Linked DNA regions of Homo sapiens: region 2 is linked to region 1. Evidence: promoter capture Hi-C in 16 types of primary human blood cells and fetal thymus (Javierre and others, 2016). All regions are on one chromosome and are shown on one strand. Each heading gives the region's core, a stretch centred on a gene start or on the middle of the fragment in contact. The rest is flanking DNA. Distances are from core to core; before and after follow the strand shown. Region 1 holds the start of CSN1S1 (casein alpha s1). Region 2 holds the start of STATH (statherin).

Region 1 (3,441 bases), core at 630-3,129:
TGAATAGGAGTGGTGAGAGAGGGCATCCCTGTCTCGTGACAGTTTTCAAAGGGAGTGCTTCCAGTTTTTGTCCATTCGGTATGATACTGGCTGTGGGTTTGTCATAAATAGCCCTTATTATTTTGAGATATGTCTCATCAATCCCGAATTTATTGAGAGTTTTTAGCATGAAGGGCTATTGAATTTTGTCAAAGGCCTTTTCTGCATCTTTTGAGATAACCATGTGGTTTTTGTCCTTGGTTCTGTTTATATGCTGTATTACGTTTATTGATTTTTGTATGTTGAACCAGCCTTGCATCCCAGGGATGAAGCCCACTTGATCATGGTGGATAAGCTTTTTGATGTGCTGCTGGATTTGGTTTGCCAGTATTTTATTGAGGATTTTTGCATCGATGTTCATCAGGGATATTGGTCTAAAATTCTTTTTCTGTTGTGTCTCTGCCAGGCATTGATATCAGGATGATGATGGCCTCATAAAATGAGTTAGGGAGGATTTCCTCTTTTTCTATTGATTGGAATAGTTTCAGAAGGAATGGTACCAGCTCCTCCTTGTACCTCTGGTAGAATTCGGCTGTGAATCCATCTGGTCCTGGCCTTTTTTTTGGTTGGTAGGTATAGCTTGATTTTGAGTTAGGAGTAAAATAAATCAGTTTTCCTGGGTACACTTCTGGGAAAAGACAAAACCAAGGTACTGTAATACAGCTGATGCTTGTCTCAGCCTCTTAAATGAATCACAGTGAATAGGAAACACTAGTAAGTTGTTGAAATTTATGTGATGTAGTCAGTAAGGAAAACACTAACTAAAGAGAACTTTAATATGGAAAAGTACATCTCTTCTGATCCCCAATCTGAAATTAACCAGTCTGAAATGTGTGTTAACCCAGAATAATGCCCTTTTCATATGACTGTGAAAAGGCTGTAAATATCATTACTATTTTTTTATTTCCTAAAATATATAGTATGATTCTTTTCCTGTAAAAAAGCAAAGTCGCAGTCAACAACAATTTTTAAAAACCCTCTCTATTACAGATATTTTCCTCAGGATATAGTATTTTTCTACATTGTATAATGATAGTTAACATAAAGGAACAGAGTCTGGGATAGGAGAGAGGCATTTTCATTTCTTTCCTTTATTTACTTTTAAAAAACAGGAAATCAGAGGTATGGCATAATTTTCCAAAATCTTTTAAAATTAAAATTAATGAATAAATATTACTTCTAATTAGTCAATGTTATAATTTGTTAAATAAATACTATCACAACCAATATGCCTAAAAGAAAGCAAACAAAAAATTGTCTGCTGTAGCTTAAATATCACCAAAACACATAGGACAGTTGGATATCCTTCTTTGAAAAAAAGATCAGAGCATATACAGTATAAGTTAATCCATAAAGCAGATAGTCACAATAAATAATAGAGGACAAGCTGCATTTTAAAAGGTAAATAAATGATGAATTCTTTTAATGGCCTGGTACACTGATAGAAATTGGAACGTTTCTAAGACCCTATTTTGTCCCCAGGATTTCCATTATAGGAATTGAATTTTTCAAAAGATATACAGAGAATTTTATTAATATGTTCCTGTCAAATTATCCCTTCAACATAAAATCATGTTTTTATAATAGCCATAAATTTGGAAATTTTTGTATTTTAATTTGCAATAATGCCACTTTATTTCTTGTGTAATCTGTTATCATAGCATGAATCACTCCCTGTTGAAAATTCTCAGAATTTCCTGGGAAAGGAATTGGACAGAAAATTAGTTTCCTATTTGGGAGAATTCTTAGAATTTAAATAAACCTATTGGTTGAACTGAAACCACAAAATTAGCATTTTCTAATTACCACATTTAAATAGCGTAAAGCAAAGAGATCGGCCATCATCTTGGTCATCAACACAACTTGCTTCTCTCCAGACTTGGGCTTAAGGTACTGCGTTTACATACAGCAAAATTGCTATCATTTTACATTATCTAATCTCTTTCTTCCACTGTTTACTAAGTATATTTGTACCATTTCCATATGTTTGCAAATATTAAAACTTCTTATGATTTTCTGGCACCTTAAAAATCCTTTTGCAAATTCTGATACCATTTTACAGCTTTAGGTGATGAATCAATACAGTTTTATAAAAATACCAAATCATTTTTTGATAATTTTGTAACTAAAATATATTTTTAAAGTTGATACATAATTTCAGTAGAGGCTTGGGGTAAGCTAATTTAAATTATTTTTACCTAATTCTATGAGAAGTTGTTATGCAAATAATTTCTTATTTTTGTAATTACCATAGCAAAAACCATTTCTAGCAGAATAGTTCAAGGCCATTTTTGTTTCATGTCATTTGGGCAACAAAATTAACTCTACAATGTGAATATCTATTATAGATAATTAGCTATTGATGGCTACTTTGTAATGATTATTAAATTTAGATATTCAGAAAGACACAAATAGTAAATTTATTTGGGTTCAAAAATATGCCTTTTTTATTAACACATTTAGATTCTAAAATTTGTAGACTGAAGCAATATATATAAATGTCAGCATTTGTATGTTGATTAAGGTGTGAACAAATAGTATGTGTGACCTGATTTTTTTTCTAATGATTTCTCTGGAAACCATTTTCCCAGTACATGTGGATGTCCATATTTCGGGGTTCTTGCAATTTAATGAAACTCTGGAAATCAAATATAAGACATGTCAATATTTTGATTCTATCCAATTCAATCATCTTTATATATTTATGTCATGAATATTCCAATGTAGCAAAACACGAAGTTATGGCTAGATTCTTTATTTAAAAATTGAAAGAGATCAATAGCTTTTACATAACGTGCAGACAGGATTTTTCATGAAGACTCTAAAAGAAAAGAATGCTCTCAAATAGATTTAAAAGAGAAGCTCATTTTCAAAACTTTTCAATAAAATTAAATTCCAGTTCTCAGTGGATTTAACTTTATTGCCCACTTTAGAAAATCTGATTTGTCATCTAGGAGGAAAAGTGTTTTCTTTTTTCAATTGTATTTCAATATTAGCACTTCTTTATTTCTCTAAGCCATATTATTACATTAAGAACAAAATGTTATGTTTTAAAGTGTTAGTGAAGAAAAATGTTTGTAAGAAATTAGTATTTCTAAATAATATAAGAACTAAGAAAAATAACTAGAATGGTAAACATTGATATTGAGTAGTAAAGTTTTTAAAATCTTAAGTTTATAAAAATTCACATTACAGCTCCTCAAATCAGCCTACTTTTATCATAATTTGCTCCTTTGTTGAAAAATCAAGAATTTTTTTCAGGAAACAAATTTAACGTAATAATATCTAACTCTTTCTTTTTTGTTCTCTTACATAGGCTCTGATAACCATGAGGCTTCTCATTCTCACCTGTCTTGTGGCTGTTGCTCTTGCCAGGCCTGTAAGTTCAGTAGAGAATTTAGA
Region 2 (3,441 bases), core at 599-3,098, 65 kb after region 1:
GGCACAATGGCTCATGACTGCAATCCCAGCACTACTTGGAGGCTAAGGCAGAAGGATTTTTGTGGTCAAAAGTTCAAGACCAGCATGGGCAACATAGCAAGACCAAGTCTCCACCAAAAACAATTTAAATTAAATTAACCAAGAGTGATAACACATGTCTGTAGTCCCAGCTAAACATGAGGCTGAGGTTGTAGGACCACTTGAGCCCAGGAGTTCCAGGCATCTGTGAACTATGATCTCACCAATGCACTCAAGACTGTGCTATGCAGCAAGACCCCATCTCTGGAAAAATAAAATAGTTACTGAACCCTATGTAACTTTTTTCCACTCAGAATGTAAAGAGATTGTGTTTGTTTTACACATGAGAAGAAACTTTGTATCTATAATGCTTATAAATCTCATGACAAAAGAATAAGAATAATATCTATCTAATTTAATTTGAATTATTTATTTGCCTTAAGAAATGATTTATATTTTCTTGTATATTACCCAGAGAGTAATCATAATTTCCAGTAAGGCTGTTCCAATACAGCATAAAAATTTACCTAATAAATACTTCCTTAAAAAATCTGATACAAAATTAAACCACAAATTATCTTTACTGGTTAAAGCCTAAGGATAACTAATGCATTCAAGAGACAAATATGTGGTTGTTTTTTTTTTTATGTTTTTGTGGAGATACGGGTCTCACTATGTTGCCTAGGCTATTCTTGAACTTCTATGCTCAAGCAATCCTCCTGCCTCGGCCTCCCAAAGTGCTGGGATTACAGACATGAGCCACTGAGACCAGCCTTGTTTCAAACTTCACAGTACCCAAAGAATCACCTGGAGATAATGTTAAAATGCAAACGCCTTAGGACAACCCCAAGATTCTGACTCAGCAAGTTTGCGAAGGTGGACTAAGAATTTACATTTCCACAGGCTCCAGCTGATGCTGTCTGTGATGTTCCCATATGGCACACTCTGAGGAACAATGCACTAGGCTGTATAACTTACCTCAACTTTATATATAAGTTTTTGATATTCGTTTCTTAGTACATTGAGTTATCCAACCAGCAGTGAGTAGGGTAATTTTTACACAAATTTTCCTAGGAATGTAATGAAAACATTTTTTCCTTCACTCTAGTGTAATCATGTCAACACATGGCTGCTATGGAAAAATATGTAGCCTTAAAAACTCCAGGAAATTAAATTGAATTTCCAAATACATATATTCAGTCATATGTGAGATATGTATCAGTGAGCACTTAGAGTCATTTCACCATAAATATAATAATTTTTTATCATATAGTACCCAAAAGATTACTGAATTTGGCAAATGTTTACGTTCACTTTGTAACTTAAAATATTCTAAAGTCAATAGAAGATGGTAAAAGTATGAGATAAATAATGATTTGAAGAAAAACTCTTGAAGTATATGAAGACTGTAATTTTATTATGCCAGTTACCACGAGTTATCAGAGAACATGTAAAATCTTGATAACATGGTAAGTATTATTTGTGTCATAGAGTTGTTCCACCTTGGACACATACTTGTGGAAACATCTTTATCACTGCAATTATTTCTATGCCTGGTTTCCTCCAGCATGCTTTTCTGTCATCTGACTCACTCAGCGCTAGACTAACAGTGGGATTAACATGCAGTGGGTACAGTTGTTTCCTGGTTACTTTGTCTTCACAATCATCTATTGCAAAATCACTTTGTTACGGTTATTTTTATCATTTGTAGAGACAGATTTTGGGCATTACTTTTAGTTTCCATAATGTGATCTCATAATTGCCATTATTTAACAAAAACAAATGGGGGACTTCAGAGTGTTTAAATACATTGGCCCTCTAGGGTAGCACATCATCTCTTGAAGCTTCACTTCAACTTCACTACTTCTGTAGTCTCATCTTGAGTAAAAGGTAATATGTTCATGTATAATCGAATATGTTGTCTTAATCTAGAGTGTTGCTTCCTAAAATCTTTTGAAAACTAATTATAAAAATGTGTATTTATGTAATGATAATTTCTCATAAAGAAACAATTGAGAGAAATGATGACCTTCTTAGGATCTGAAGGTAAGTTGAGAATCTGAATAACTATACATTGAAATCAGCAATCATCATGCAAAGTAAATAATGTGGAATATGGAGACATATTCCAACTTCTCTCCTGATGGAACTTCTGAAAAGCTTTTTATTTCCTTGTCTACGTACTGGCATCTACTCTGCTACTTACTACTTTTACCTTTATTCGAAGTTCATATTTTAAGAAAATAGCATACGTTCTCTTTTTTGCAAATGTATATATTGTTTCACAAGTTTAACTTTTAAAAATTTACTTTTTTCCCATAAGTAAACATTTCTCACTACCTTTTCATTGACCTTTCCATCATTTTAAACAGTTATGTCATTCTGCATAATAAAAAATGTTGTATAACAGTCATGCTTTACTGCCTTACTGTTTTATATTACTTAAGTTGTTTTCATTCAGTTGTGATATGGCAGAAAACAAAGATTTTACTATTTCATATTTTTATTATTTTTCATTGGGGAAATATTTTTTTAAAACCATGACATATATATTTATATATCTATGTCTATATATCCATCTTTCAGTTTATCAAGGTTAGTAAAACAAAACTACTCTTCTATGAGCATTTTTTGATTCCATACTTTCAATAAAATTTACAGGTATAAAATACACTAAAGTTTTTATGCTTTTTGCATCATAAAATGACTGATGGGTAGGTTTATCTATCAGGTGATAGAAAAACCCCAAAGTACATATTATTTTTACACTTACTCTAATACCAGAAATTTCCTTTTTTTTTTTTTTTTTTTTTTAATTTGAGACAGAGTTTCGCTCTTGTTGCCCAGGCTGGAGTGCAATGGTGCAATCTCGGCTCACCGCAACCTCCACCTCCCGGGCTCAAGTGATTCTCCTGCCTCAGCTTCCTAAGTAGCTGGGATTATAGGCACTCACCACCATGCCCAGCTAAATTTTTATTATTATTATTTTTAGTAGAGACGGGGTTTCTCCATGTTGGTCAGGCTGGTCTTGAACTCCTGACCACAGGTGATCTGCCCACCTTGGCCTTCCAAAGTGCTGTGATTACAGGCATGAGCCACCACACCCGGCCAGAAATTTCAGTTTGAATAACTGAGGCAAATCAGTGAATAAGTAACAAAGCAAATGCCATAAATCATGAGTTCTGCTTTATGTTTTGGAGATTTGGGGTTATTAATAACAGTAATTTTTTTTATAATTAGGTAAAAAATATTCTTGTAATGTTTTATCACAAGTTATTGGTAAAAGAGATTAAAATAATGAAGACCATTACCTTTATATGAATTACTCTATAGTTTTCAATAAACAGGTAAAAATGTCATTTATTTGTAACTCTTGTGGCAATTATGTGTTTCACTGAAAATGTCTTTATTTAGATGTTTATA

What was found. Contacts are between HindIII fragments. The CHiCAGO score rates a contact against its expected background, and 5 or more counts as called.
Region 2: the fragment with the promoter of STATH here is called in contact with the fragment with the promoter of CSN1S1 in region 1 in 2 of 17 cell types (neutrophils and fetal thymus); the score reaches 6.0 in neutrophils.

The regions. Positions count from the first base shown.
Region 1 is chr4:69,929,189-69,932,629 of GRCh38, forward strand. CSN1S1 (casein alpha s1) reads left to right here and starts at 1,880. Exons shown (of 16, transcript NM_001890.2): 1 at 1,880-1,929; 2 at 3,356-3,418. The coding sequence starts at 3,368. The HindIII fragment of the contact is 13,101 bases long and covers 333-3,441 here.
Region 2 is chr4:69,994,118-69,997,558 of GRCh38, forward strand. It overlaps STATH (statherin), which reads left to right and starts at 1,849. Exons shown (of 6, transcript NM_003154.3): 1 at 1,849-1,908. The HindIII fragment of the contact is 2,895 bases long and covers 1-1,860 here.